Linked DNA regions of Homo sapiens: region 2 is linked to region 1. Evidence: promoter capture Hi-C in 16 types of primary human blood cells and fetal thymus (Javierre and others, 2016). All regions are on one chromosome and are shown on one strand. The core of a region is centred on a gene start or on the middle of the fragment in contact, and the rest is flanking DNA. Distances in the headings are between cores, read along the strand shown.

The links. Contacts are between HindIII fragments. The CHiCAGO score rates a contact against its expected background, and 5 or more counts as called.
Region 2: the fragment with the promoter of ATP4A here is called in contact with the fragment with the promoter of ZNF792 in region 1 in 4 of 17 cell types (neutrophils, monocytes, naive CD4 T cells and 1 more); the score reaches 10.7 in neutrophils.

The regions. Positions count from the first base shown.
Region 1 is chr19:34,960,311-34,967,011 of GRCh38, reverse strand. It overlaps ZNF792 (zinc finger protein 792), which reads left to right and starts at 2,783. Exons shown (of 4, transcript NM_175872.5): 1 at 2,783-3,382; 2 at 6,018-6,144; 3 at 6,655-6,701. The coding sequence starts at 3,350. It overlaps LOC124904699 (a long non-coding RNA gene), which reads right to left and starts at 3,586. Exons shown (of 2, transcript XR_007067236.1): 1 at 3,339-3,586. RefSeq lists silencers at 3,022-3,281, 3,392-3,441. The HindIII fragment of the contact is 6,406 bases long and covers 1-3,647 here.
Region 2 is chr19:35,559,810-35,566,510 of GRCh38, reverse strand. ATP4A (ATPase H+/K+ transporting subunit alpha) reads left to right here and starts at 2,853. Exons shown (of 22, transcript NM_000704.3): 1 at 2,853-2,893; 2 at 2,984-3,127; 3 at 3,243-3,302; 4 at 3,873-4,076; 5 at 5,579-5,692; 6 at 5,896-6,148; 7 at 6,438-6,701. The coding sequence starts at 2,882. RefSeq lists an enhancer at 1,197-1,698. The HindIII fragment of the contact is 9,853 bases long and covers 1-6,701 here.

The DNA of each region.
Region 1 (6,701 bases), core at 1,534-4,033:
TGATCAGAGGTTTTCAGGGATAATTTGGTGGGTGGGGGGCCAGGTAGTGGGGAGTGCTGATTAGTTGGGTTAGAGATGAAATCACAGGGAGTCAAAGTTGACTAACTGCACTGAGTAAATTCCAGGGTGGGGACCACAGGACCAGATGACCCAGTTTATCAATCTGGGTGGCACTAGCTGATCCATCGAGTGCTGGGTCTGAAAAATATCTCGAGCACCAATCTTAGGTTTTACAATAGTGATGTTATCCCCAGTAGCAATTGGGAAGGTTTAAAATCTTGTGACCCCTGGCCCCTGGCTGCATGACTCCTAAACCATACTCTCTAATCTTGTGGCTTTTGTTAATCCTACAAAGGCAGTCTGGTCCCCAGACAAGAAGAGGGTTTGTTTCAGGAAAGGGCTGGGTTTTTTTGTTTGTTTTTGTTTTTGAGATGGAGTCTCGCTCTGTTGCCCGGGCTGGAGGCGATCTCAGCTCACTGCAAGCTCTACCTCCCGGGGTTCATGCCATTCTCCTGCCTCAGCCTCCTGAGTAGCTGGGACTACAGGTGCCCGCCACCACACCTGGCTAATTTTTTGTATTTTTAGTAGAGACAGGGTTTCACCATGTTAGCCAGAATGGTCTCGATCTCCTGAACTCGTGATCCGCCTGCCTCGGCCTGCCAAAGTGCTGGGATTACAGGGGTGAACCACCATGCCCGGCCTAGAGGGAAAGGGCTGTTATCTTTGCTTCAAAGTTAAACTGTAAACTGAGTTTCTCCCAAAGTTAGTTAGGCCTATGCTCAGGAACGAACAAGGACAGCTTGGAGGTTAGAAGCAAGATGGAGTTGGTTAGGTCAGATCTCTCACTGTCATAATTTTCTCAGTTATAATTTTTACAAAGGTGGTTTCACCATATGACATGTAGTATCGGGGGAACCCACCCCCGATAATTCAATGTGGGTTCTTTTCTATTTTCCCTAAGTGTCGGCTGGTCTGAGAAATAAAGGGAAAGAGTACAAAAGAGATAAATTTTAAAGCTGGGTGTCTGGGGGAGACATCACATGTCAGCAGGTTCCGTGATGCCCCCGAGCCATAAAACCAGCAAGTTTTTATTGGCAATTTTCAAAGGGGAGGGAGTGTACGAATAGGGTGTGGGTCACAGAGATCACATGCTTTAAGGGCAACAAAAGATCACAAGGCAGAAGGTCAGGGCGAGATCACAAGGTCAGGGCAAAACTAGAATCACTCATGAGCTTCCATGTCCTGCTGTGCACGCATTGTCATTTATAAACATCTTAACAGGGTTCAAGAGCAGAGAACTGGTCTGACTAGAGTTCGCCAGGCTGGAATTTCCTAATCCTAGCAAGCCTGGGGGCGCTGCAGGAGACTAGGGTGTGTTTCATCCCTATCTACATGTGCATAAGGCAGACACTCCCAGGGCAGCCATTTTAGAGGCACTGCCCTGGGAATGCATTATTTTCCCAGGGCTGTTAATTATTAATATTCCTTACTGGGGAAAGAATTCAGCGATATTTCTCTTACCCGTTTTTGGTAATAGGAGAAATATGGCTCTGTCCTGCCCGTCCCACAGGCAGCCAGACTTTAAGGTTATCTCCCTTGTTCCCTGAAAATCGCTGTTATCCTGTTCTTAAGGTGCCCAGATTTCATATTGTTCAAACACACATGCCCTACAAACAATCTGTGCAGTTAACGCAATCATCACAGGGTCCTGAGATGACATACATCCTCAGCTTACGAAGATGACAGGATTAAGAGATTAAAGTAAAGTCAGGCATAGGAAATCACAAGAGTATTGATTGGGGAAGCGATACATGTCCATGAAATCTTCACAATTTATGTTCAGAGATTGCAGTAAAGACAGGCATAAGAAATTATAAAAGTATTAATTTGGGGAACTAATAAATGTCCATGAAATCTTCACAATTAATGTTCTTCTGTCACGGCTTCAGCAGGTCCCTCCGTTCGGGGTCCCTGACTTCCTGCAACAATGTAGTGTTATTTTTCCCATTTTATTTACTGGATTTCAATGAGAGTCCCTGCTGTAAAGTTGGAGCCAGCATTGGAGTCCCCAGAGGGCTTGTTAAAACAGAGAAGGAGGCCTGGCACCATGGCTCACTCCTGCAATTCCCAACACTTTGGGAGGCCGAGGTGAGAGGATCACTTGAGCTCAGGAGTTTGAGACCAGCCTAGGCATCACAGGGAGATCCAGTCTCTACAAAAAATTTTAAAATTAGCTGTGTATGATGGTGCACGCCTGTATCCCATCTACCTGGTAGGCTGAGGCAGGAGGATAGCTTGAGCCCGAGATGGAGGCTGCAGTGAGCTATGATCAGGCCACTGCACTCCAGCCTGGACAACAGAACGAGACCCATCCCCCCCGCCCCCCCCGCAAAAAGTAGAGAAGGCTGAATCCCATCCCCAGAATTTCTGAGTCCTTAGATTTAAGTTGTTGCCCCAGAACCTGCATTTTCAGCCAGTCCCCAGGTGATGCTGATGTTGCTGGTTTGAGAAGCCCTGAATCAGAGCGACATTTAATATTACAACGCAAAGACCCCGCCCATTGGGTACTATCCCCATTTTCCAGTGTGAATTTAGGTCCCTTAGGGGTGAAGCGGCTGGCCGATGCCCACACGCGCAGGAAGAGCACTGGGGCTCTCCTCCTGGACCTCGGAGGGTGGGCGGGGTTTAGCGCGGGCGGCTGCAGGCTCGGGAGCGGCCCCTTTAAGGGGAAGGCCCGAGGGCTGCAGGCGGCGGCGGTGGAGACCCGACGAGATCCGCTCTCCTTCCCGCCCTGGACCCTCAGCCTGACGAGAGGCTGGGCAGAAACTCGCGATCCCCAGGCCCTGCCTGTGCACCAGCGGCTGGCGCCAGGCCAATGACAGTACGGGAGAGGGCAACTCTCCCGGCCGCCACGGTGGGGGCCGGAACTTCCTGCACTGCAGCCTCGCAGGTCATTTCCCGGCGGGGAGGCTGAGTCCCCAGGAGCTGGGGACCCCGAGTTGGGGGCGGGGCGGCTGGGGCTACGCCCGTGAAGCTGCCCCGCCGGCTTTCCCGGACCGCGAGGGGGACAGTGAGGCCGGGACCCCCTCCGCGCCTTTGCACCAGCCGTGACCCCTTGCAACGGGGGTACCCAGCGGAGCTGCGCGCTCTCGGCGCCCCCGGAGCCTGCGCCCCGGGCCCCTTGCGCATTTTGCACGGGGGAGACTGAGGCTAGGAGTGCGACCCTCAGCCCGGGGTCACACCTCGTCTGGGGCACGGCCAGGTGGGTGGTAGCCTCAGCCTGCGAGACCCCCTACCCCCGCCCCGTGGTTTCCCGCACCGTGGGGCCCTGCTCTGACCACAGACTCCGATGGCAGCGGCGGCGCTGCGGGACCCCGCGCAGGTGAGTGCTTGGACGTTAGGCCCTTCGCTGTCGGCCCCCCACGCTTCTGTTCTCGGTGTTGAGACGCAAAAGATGGCTTTGTTCTAGGACTTTTCGCCTTTCCCATTTCCTTGCTTTTGAGTCAGGGGACCCTGGAAGGGAGTTGCTCCCAGCTAGGATCCTGAATCAGGGCAGGGTTTATATAAAGTGGCTTCCGTTGCTGAAATGTAATGGGATGGAGGGAGAAAGGGCTTTGTAGGCACAGGAACCAGCGTGCGCAAAAGCTTGGGGGTGGGGTGGGGCACGGTGTGGAGACTGAGTTGGGAGTGTTCAAGGAACCCCACCCAGGTCAGTGTTATTAATATTATGTCTGCTGGAACCAGAGAGCAGGTGGGCTGAAGACAGCTCAGAACGGCAGAGCTGGGCCTCTGTTCTGAGGGTGTTGGGAGCCATGGAAGGTTTAGGGCAGAGGAGGAAGATGCTGTGACTCAGGTCTTAACAGGCTCCCTGTGGATGCACAGTGGAGAACTGAATATGGAGTGAGCCGCAAGCAGGGATGCCAAGGAGTAGCCTAATGGAATAGCCCAGGCCAGTGCTGCGGCTGGCCGGACCAGAGTGAGGACTGGAGGTAGAGGAAGTGATTGGGAACTTGATGTCTTTTAAGTCAAGCTGACCAAATTTTCCGATGTGGAGGGTGAGAAAGAGGAGGGAAGAATCCATGGTTTTTGGTTTGATGAATCCAGCTTTATGAACTGAGAAGTTGGTTTTAGGAGGAATTTTCCATGGAAGCAGTAGAAGTTAGGTTTTGGCCAAGTTGAGCCTGTGATGTCCCAGAGACCCCCAAATGGAGTTGAAGAGTGGGCCGCTGAACACACAGTTCGGGTGTTCTGAGGGAGTTGTTAAGGTAATGAGAGACTGGATATTCATTCGAACAATGGCCAGATCATGTATACAAATAGAACTCTGCCCCAGAACCTGCCCAGGAAACCAACCCCCTTATCTACAATAAACAACCCATACAGCAGGAAGCCAGCCTGCTGTCTGTCAGACCCACAGGAAGCCAGATTGCTATCTGGACTGACAATCCAGGAAGTAAAAACAATAACTTCTGTAATGAGCAGTCCCAAATGGCCAGGGTTTGATTAATAACAGACAGCTTTCCTCATTTTTGCTCCTGCTTCTGATTTAAGAACAACCAGAGAAAGGCAGATACGCACCCTAACCAATCACATAGGATGCCCACTTCTAGTTCACCCACCTACGAACAGGAGCCTCCAACCAGGGCACGCCTGAAGCCTTCCTTTTCTTTTGCTATAAAACTCTCCCACTCCCGGCTTGCATTGAGTCTCTCTTGCTATAGTGAGCTTTGAGTAAGTAGCCTTGGCTTTTCTCATTTCATTGGTCTTTGTTTATTTCAACAGTTAGAAACATCCAAAATGTGACATCTGGTGTGTGGACGGGAGTGTAGCTGTGTGTGAGATTTAGGAGGTGAAACTTCAGGTCATGGTGACAATGATGTTAAAAAAAAGAGGAAGGTGGGGCTGGAAAACTGAGAGCAGGGTTCTTGCTTGGGGACTGTGGCTTGTTTGGCATCATAAAGACAGGTGAGGAACAGTAGTGGTCATGGTGGTGATGGAGGGGCTATGTGGGTGTATCAGAGGGTCTGGCAGGTGGCCAGATCATCCCAAAGAGTGTAGACATGAATGAGATGGATGCTGAGGCTTAGCAGTAGAGGAGGTAATATTGCAGTGAGGCCTGGGCTGGTGCTTACACACTCACCTATGTTCTCACCAGGCTTCTGTGGTGACCCTTGATGGGGTTTGTCCTCAGGCTGGGGAATTAGCTTGGGGCAAGAGGAGTCAGTTGGCAGAGTTGCTGGGCTTAGGTGGGTGGGGGTAGGATGGCCAGAGGGGTTGGCTTTTTTTTTCTTTTTTAAATGAGTGTGAGTGATGACAGGGTCAGAATGTGCAACAAAGAAGGCCAAGTGTATGTGACATCCATGTGTGCCGTGGGTGGCTTAGGTTGAAGCCAGGCCAGGGGAGCTAGGGGGCTCCAAGGCAAGGGTGGAGCGCTCCCTCTCCCCCTTACCTGGGTGTTGCCCTTGGCAGTGGAGGCCATCAAAGGTCTGGGGCAGGCTGGGATGGTGCTTATGTTTGCCAGGCACTCTCTGGATGCCATGTGCAGAGTGACTCGTGGGAGCCCATGGAGATGGCTAGGATAGGGGCCAGGATGGGGAGAAGGTAGCAGTGGCAATGGGAGGCCGTGGTGAAGGTCTGGAGCTGTGAGGGTGGTGCAGTCCAAAGAGTGAAACGCACGTGGGAGGGAGTATGAGCTGTTCACCCCAGGGCTCTGGACTGGGGTTTAAAGGAGAAGCCCACATTTGTATCTGAGAAGCATGACATTGGTGACACTAGGGGAAGAGGCTGGCAGAAGAGCGAGCTGGGCCCTGGACTTCAGGCCCAGAGCTTAGAGGGTGCCTCTCTGCACCCTGCCTGTTGCTGCTGCGGGCTGACACAGTGGTCACATGAGGCGCCCACAGAACCAGGGCCTGCTACCTCCTGGAGCTGTGGAGCTGGGGAGGAGAGTGAGCAGGGGATGGATAGGGAGTCCCAAGGACAGAGACTGATCATGGAACGAACTGTCCCCATCATGGCAGGGCTGCGTGACCTTTGAGGACGTGACCATTTACTTCTCCCAGGAGGAGTGGGTGCTCCTCGATGAGGCTCAGAGACTCCTGTACTGCGATGTGATGCTGGAAAACTTTGCACTTATAGCCTCGCTGGGTAAGGCTGTCACCCCTACCCCGGTGTCCCGAGCTCCTCTCTGCCTGTCCCCTTTGCCCAAGAAACAGCTCTTTCCTTCCCACAGCCAGACCGCTGGCACTGCTTCCATCCCCACTTTCCTGGTATGTGTGTTGTGGCTTCTGGGGCTGAGCTATGTGCATTGTTCCCTCCTCTCCCTGAGCTGCCCCCACACCTGCTGCCTGAAGCCTTGCAGGGAAGCTCCAGGCATGAGGGGTCTTGCGGTTAGCTGTGTGACTACCTCTGACTCGGCCATTCCCTCCTGGGTGATTATCCAGATCTGACAGTTCTGTGGTTTAGATTCTGTGCCTTTCCTCTTGCTAATATTTCCTAAGCCTGACTGTGCCAGGAATTCCAATCACTGATGTGGTTACTGCTTGCCGTGACCACCCAATGTCCCTGTGTCATACGGAGCTTCCTGTCTTGTAGTCTATCATGGGGTAGTTCAACTGGGCAGGTGCTGGCCACTGACCCACTCTGTCTTTCCCTTAGGACTTATATCTTTCAGGTCCCACATCGTTTCCCAGTTGGAGATGGGG
Region 2 (6,701 bases), core at 1,604-4,103, 600 kb before region 1:
AAGTATGGATAAAGGGGATCCTGTCTCCAACTTGCTTCCAAATGATTCAGCCAAAAATTTAAAAAATTCTGGCCAGGCATGGTGGCTCACACCTGTAATCCCAGCACTTTGGGAGGCCAAGGCGGGTGGATCACTTGAGACCAGGAGTTCTAGACCATCCTGGCCAACATGGTGAAACCCCGTCTCTACTAAAAATACAGAAATTAGCTGGGCATGGTGGCGGGTGCCTGTAATCCCAGCTGCTTGGGAGGCTGAGGCACAAGAATTGCTTGAATCCAGGAGACAGAGGTTGCAGTGAGCCGAGATCATGACACTGCACTACAGCCTGGGCGACAGAGAAAGACTCTGTCTCAAAAAGAAAAAAAAAAAAAATCTATCAATCATCTATCATTTATGTATCCATCTATCTGTCTAACATCTCTTATCTATCTATTTTTCTATTTTTTTTTTTTTTTTTTTTTGAGACAGAGTCTCACTCTGTCACCCAGGCTGGAGTGCAGTGGCATGATCTCGGCTCACTGCAACTTTCACCTCCCAGGTTCAAGTGATTCTCCTGCCTCGGCCTCCCTGGTAGCTGGGATTACAGGCACACACCACCACATCCAGCTAATTTTTGTATTTTTAGTAGAGACAGGGTTTCACCATGTTGACCAGGCTGGTCTCGAACTCCTGACCTCATGATCCGTCCACCTCAGCCTTCCAGAGTGCTGGGATTACAGATGTGAGTCACAGTGTCCGGCCCAGTCCTCCTTCTAATGAACACCAAACAAATAAAAAGAAAACACAGTGTCAGGTTGGAGTAGGAGGTGTAAATACAGTGGGGTAAAGGAACAGAACACAGTGTGCAGTATTACAGAATGGACTCTCTGAAGAGGTGACATTTGAGCTGAGACCTGAAAGAGGTGAGAAAGCCAGTGCAGACATCTAAGGAAGGGGGCCCAGGCAGAAGGAACTGTAAGTACCAAGGTCCTGAAGCAGGAACGACCTTGGTCTGTGCAAAGTGCAGCAGAGAGGTCAGTGCCCCTGGAAACCTAGCAGCAACAGAGGCAGGACAGGTGACCAGGGCCAGATGTTGCAGGAAGGAGTGCAGAGTTTATTCTGAGTGGGAAGGGAAGGCTTTGGAGGGTTGTAAGCAGGGGGTGACACAAGCTGTTTGACATACATGGCTCAGAGCTGATGGGAGCCCAGTGAGCGAGTAGATTCACTACAAGGACAGCATGTGGCCCCACGCCACCTCTTCTTTGGAGGTTTCTTCTAGCAGGCTGGGGATGACCAGCCGTGTGGGTGCGGGGAGGAGCTCTGGCTGCCCAACAGCTTTGAGTTTCCCAGGTGACCTGCCCCAGTAGAGAAGGACATTGCCAGGGCAGTTATCTTATCAGGCGCACGCTCACCTGCTCCTGGAGACACGCTCACCCCATAACATACCAAGGTCCCCACCATTCCACTGGCCCAGCCCCTCGCTGCTGCTGCCCATGGAGGTCCCTACCTGAGGGATGAGGAGGGAGTCCCCAGGCCTCCTGGCATCTGTCACCCAACACCAAGATCAAGCCAAGACCCTTGGACACATCCTTTCCCCATGTTGCACCTTGGTTTCCCCATCTAGGGTAGGGACGGGGAATGGTTGAGAGCTGTAAAGTCTGTAGCTGGATATGTGAGTCCCTGTGAGCCTCAGTTTCCCCCTCTGCACAACAGGAATGATAGTTCTGCCTGCACAGGGTTTTTTGCAAAGACCCGTGAGGTCACACGTGCAGAGCCTGGCATGTGTGTGGTGCTGCTGCAGTGAAGTTTGGGTTTTTCCATTGGTGGTGCCATAGAAGAGCTAGGCTCTGGGGTCAAGCCCTGGGGTCAAGCCCGGGCTGGAACCCTGTCCCTAATTCTTAGACGTTGAAATCTTCTGCAAAGTCCCTGATGGGGGCTAAGAAGAGAATATTGCTTTACAGGGCTGCTGTTAGATGCTAAGGAAACCATTTGAGTGACACACAGAGCACACCCAGCCCATAGTGAATAGTCAGAGTTCAGTAAACATTCAGCCACCATAGAGAGTGTTGTAAGCATGGCAGGGCATGGTGGCTCACGCCTGTAATCCCAGCACTTTGGGAGGCCAAGGCGGGTGGATCACCTGAGGTCAGGAGTTCGAGACCAGCCTGGCCAACCTGGTGAAACCCCGTCTCTACTAAAAGTACAAAAATTAGCTGGGTGTGGTGGCATGTGCCTGTAGTCCCAGCTACTCAAGAGGCTGAGGCAGGAGAATCACTTGAACCCGGGAGGCGGAGGTTGCAGCGAGCTGAGATTGCACCACTGCACTCCAACCTGGGTGTCAGAGTGACACTCCATCTCAAAAAAAAAAAGAAAAAAAAAAAGAGTGTGGGAGCACCCTCCTCTTCCAGTTGATCAGGCACGTGCTATTTAGACTGAAAGAGGACACTCTGCAGCCAGCTGATCTGGTTCTCACTCCATTATGTCCTAGCCTGTGATGGAGCCATAGGAGAATGACTCAACCCCTCCATGCCTCAGTTTCCCCATCTGTAAAGGGTCTTGTCCCCTCAAAGGGTTATTGGAAGGTTAAATAAGTTAGCACATGGAAGCCGTCAGCACAATGCCCAGCGCATAATGAGCACCTTATGTTTGCTCTTCTTGTTGCTGCAGCGGTTCCCAGGGGCTCCCTGATCTCAGGGCAGGTTGACATGGGGGGATCTGGGCAGGGGAGGGGGGGGCCAGCCCAGGAGGGAATGCCTGAGGTGCCCAGGCCTAGAGGTCACCCCAAGGAGCCTGTAATCAGCTGTGGTCGGGCGGTTCTGCTCCACCCCACCGCCCTCCCTGGGTATATCAGGACTGGTCCGGGCCCAGGCTCTGTTGGGTGGGAGCACAGGCACCGGGCACCATGGGGAAGGCCGTGAGTGGGGCCCAGGGGTCCGGGGTGCAGTGGGGACAGGGGTTGCAGTGGAATCTGAGTTCTCCCTCCCTCCATCCTGTCCATTCCCAGGAGAACTATGAGCTCTACTCGGTGGAGCTGGGTCCTGGCCCTGGCGGGGACATGGCTGCCAAGATGAGCAAGAAGAAGAAGGCGGGTGGCGGGGGTGGCAAGAGGAAGGAGAAGCTGGAGAACATGAAGAAGGAGATGGAGATTGTGAGCTCTGACTGGGGAGGGGCGGGAGCTGGAGGGTAGGCTGGGAACCAGGCAGTGGGCGGGGAGGGGGCCAGGAGAGCCCAGAGCAAGCACCCTGCCCCACCCCACCACACAGAACGACCACCAGCTGTCAGTGGCGGAGCTGGAACAGAAATACCAGACCAGTGCCACCAAGGTGAGCTGGAGACTGGGAGCGTACAGAAAGGGGAGGAGGAGAGAGGGAGGGAGAGGGAGATGGAAGGAGGGAGATGGAGAGAGGGAGAGAGAGGGAGAGATGAAGAGAGGAAGATATGGAGAAATAGAGAGAGGGAGGGAGGCAGAAAAGGAAAGAGGGAGGGAGGGAGAGAGGAAAGGATGGAGGGAGGGGAGGAGAGAGGGAGGGAGATGGAGAGAGGGAGAGAGAGGGAGAGGGAGAGAAGGGAGAAAGCATTAGAGAGAAAGGGTGACACACAGAGACGGAGAGAGGAGTAGCTGAAAAGAGACAGCAAGACAGAGAAGGCAGAGACAAATAAGGAGAGAGCAGCAGGAGAGAGACACATAGAAAGGGGAGCGAGGAGAGAGAGACAAAGGGAGAGATGAAGGAGGGAGGGAGAGATGGGGTGGGGGCAGGAACCAAGAGACAAAGAGATGAGAAGGAGCAGGACAGACCAAGCTGGAGAAGGGAAACTGAAGCAGGGGGCTTTCCACGGGGTGTGCATGTGGAGGAAAGCCCCCAGGACCGCCTCGCCCTGCCCCTCTGTCCCAGGGCCTCTCTGCGAGCCTGGCTGCTGAGCTGCTGCTGCGGGATGGGCCCAACGCACTGCGGCCACCACGGGGCACCCCAGAGTACGTCAAGTTCGCGAGGCAGCTGGCCGGGGGCCTGCAGTGCCTCATGTGGGTTGCCGCCGCCATCTGCCTCATCGCCTTTGCCATCCAGGCTAGTGAGGGGGACCTCACCACCGACGACAATGTGAGCCATGTTGTGGGGACAGGCTCAGGACATGGGGACCTGGGGATGGAAGACACTGAGCCTGGGACTTGGGACAAGAGGGGCAGAGAAGGATGGGGATAGACGAACACGAAAGGCAGTCTCAAGACAGGGGTCATGGAGGGTGAAGGACATTGGGATATGGATGGGGCAGACCCAAGGACACAGGACACAGGGACACTGGGGTGAATCTTGGGTATGGGGACATAGGTGGGGGCATAAAGAGTATGGCAATGTGATACGTAAGAGATGGGATTTGGAGGCCGGGCGTGTAATCCCATGCCTGTAATCCCAGCACTTTGGGAGGCCGAGGCGGGCAGATCACCTGAGGTCAGGAGTTCGAGACCAGCCTGGCCAACATGGCAAAACCCCATCTCTACTAAAATTACAAAAATTAGCCAGACATGGTGGCGGGCACCTGTAATCCCAGTTACTTGGGAGGCTGAGGCAGGAGAATCATTTGAACCCAGGAGGTGGATGTTGCAGTGAGCCAAGACCATGCCACTGCACTCCAGCCTGGGCGACAGAGCGAGACTGCATCTTAAAAAAAAAAAAAAAAAAAAAAAAAAGAGATGGGACTTGGAAGCAGAGGACATGCAGTGCAGACACAGGACAGACTGAGGCACGGGGAATAGGAGACCCTGGGACTCAGACATAGGACACCAGGGCAGGGACCCAAGCCTCAGGACACAGCACATAGAGAGACACAAAACATGAGACATAGAAGCACAGAGACAGAGAGGAAATGGAGGTGCAGGGCAAGGGACATTGGACATATGGCAGAGATGAGGGCAAGGGACATGGGGACTCAGGGACATGTGACATGGGACAGAGGCTCGAAAAGTCATGGCCATGGGACACAGGATGGGAACTCGGAGATACACAGACATGGGAGACACGGGACACAGTGACTGGGGAGCTAGAACATGGGGGCCGTGGCCACAGAGGACACAGACCATGACGTACAAGGTCTGCAGCACACGCAGGGACGGGGATGTGAGGATGCAGGGACAAGGGGGCCCAGGGGACACACAGAGGGTGGCAGCAGATTATGGAAAACCCAGGATGTGAAACTGGAGACACGGGGAATACAGGCCATGGGGACAGGAGGAGACATGGGACAGTGGACATGGGGAATGCAAGGCTTGGGGACACAGGAGAAGGGAACACGTCAGACCAAGGCACACAGTGATTTGGGGCACAAGTCACAGATATGGGGACATGGAAGATTGAGGATTCAGGGCCAGAGGATATGAAATATACACAGAAACACAAGACACTGAGAAGACAGAGCAGGCGAGTGTGGGACATGAGGGACATGGGAGGGGGCTAAAGGCTACAGGGAATGGTGCATGGAGCTTCCTAGTAGGTGGGGAAAAGCATGGGGAAAACCAAGAAAACCAGGGCACCAGGGAGCAGGTCGGTGGCCTCAGGCAGGCAGCTTCCGGCCCCTCTGAATAACCCCACCCCTTCCCTGTCCCCAGCTGTACCTGGCAATCGCTCTCATTGCTGTGGTTGTCGTCACCGGCTGCTTTGGCTACTACCAGGAATTCAAGAGCACCAACATCATCGCCAGCTTTAAGAACCTTGTGCCACAGGTGGGTTCCCCAGCACCCAGCCACTCCAGATCCCAGAGACTCCAAACTGCTCCTGTAGCCTCCTTCCATCAGGCCCCTGTCCCTCATCTGTGGCCTCCATCTCTCCCCATGGGTCCCAGCTCTCCTCATCCTTTACCTCCCCACATGCAGCAGCTCCCACCCCCACCCCCGTCCACCTCAACTTTGGTGCCCCTGCCCCGCAGCAAGCCACTGTCATCCGCGATGGAGACAAATTCCAGATCAACGCTGACCAACTGGTGGTGGGCGACCTGGTGGAGATGAAAGGTGGGGACAGAGTGCCCGCCGACATCCGCATCCTGGCGGCCCAGGGCTGCAAGGTGGACAACTCCTCGCTGACAGGGGAGTCTGAGCCACAGACCCGCTCACCCGAGTGCACGCACGAGAGCCCTCTGGAGACCCGCAACATCGCCTTCTTCTCCACCATGTGCCTTGAGGGTCTGTGAAGCCCCCGCCTGCCTGCCCAGTAACTGCTGCCTCCACTGGCCTCTCTCCTGCTATCTTCTAGGACAGGGGGCTTCAGCCTCCCTGTCTCTCTCCTGCATGACTGCCACCTCCCCGTGACTGCCACCTCCCCAGGGCACACTGCTTCTCTGTCTCCCACTGTCACTACCCTCTCCCAGGTCACATCCTCCACTGGCAGTGACTGGCTGTCCTTCAGCTCACACGGCAGTGCACACCCCACTGCCGCCCCCTATCCCTGAGTCGCGCCTTGGCCCCCCTGCAGGCACCGTGCAGGGCCTGGTGGTGAACACGGGCGACCGCACCATCATTGGGCGCATCGCATCGCTGGCGTCGGGGGTGGAAAACGAGAAGACACCCATCGCTATCGAGATCGAGCATTTTGTGGACATCATCGCGGGCCTGGCCATTCTCTTCGGTGCCACATTTTTTATTGTGGCCATGTGCATTGGCTACACCTTCCTGCGGGCCATGGTCTTCTTCATGGCCATCGTGGTGGCCTATGTGCCTGAGGGGCTGCTGGCCACTG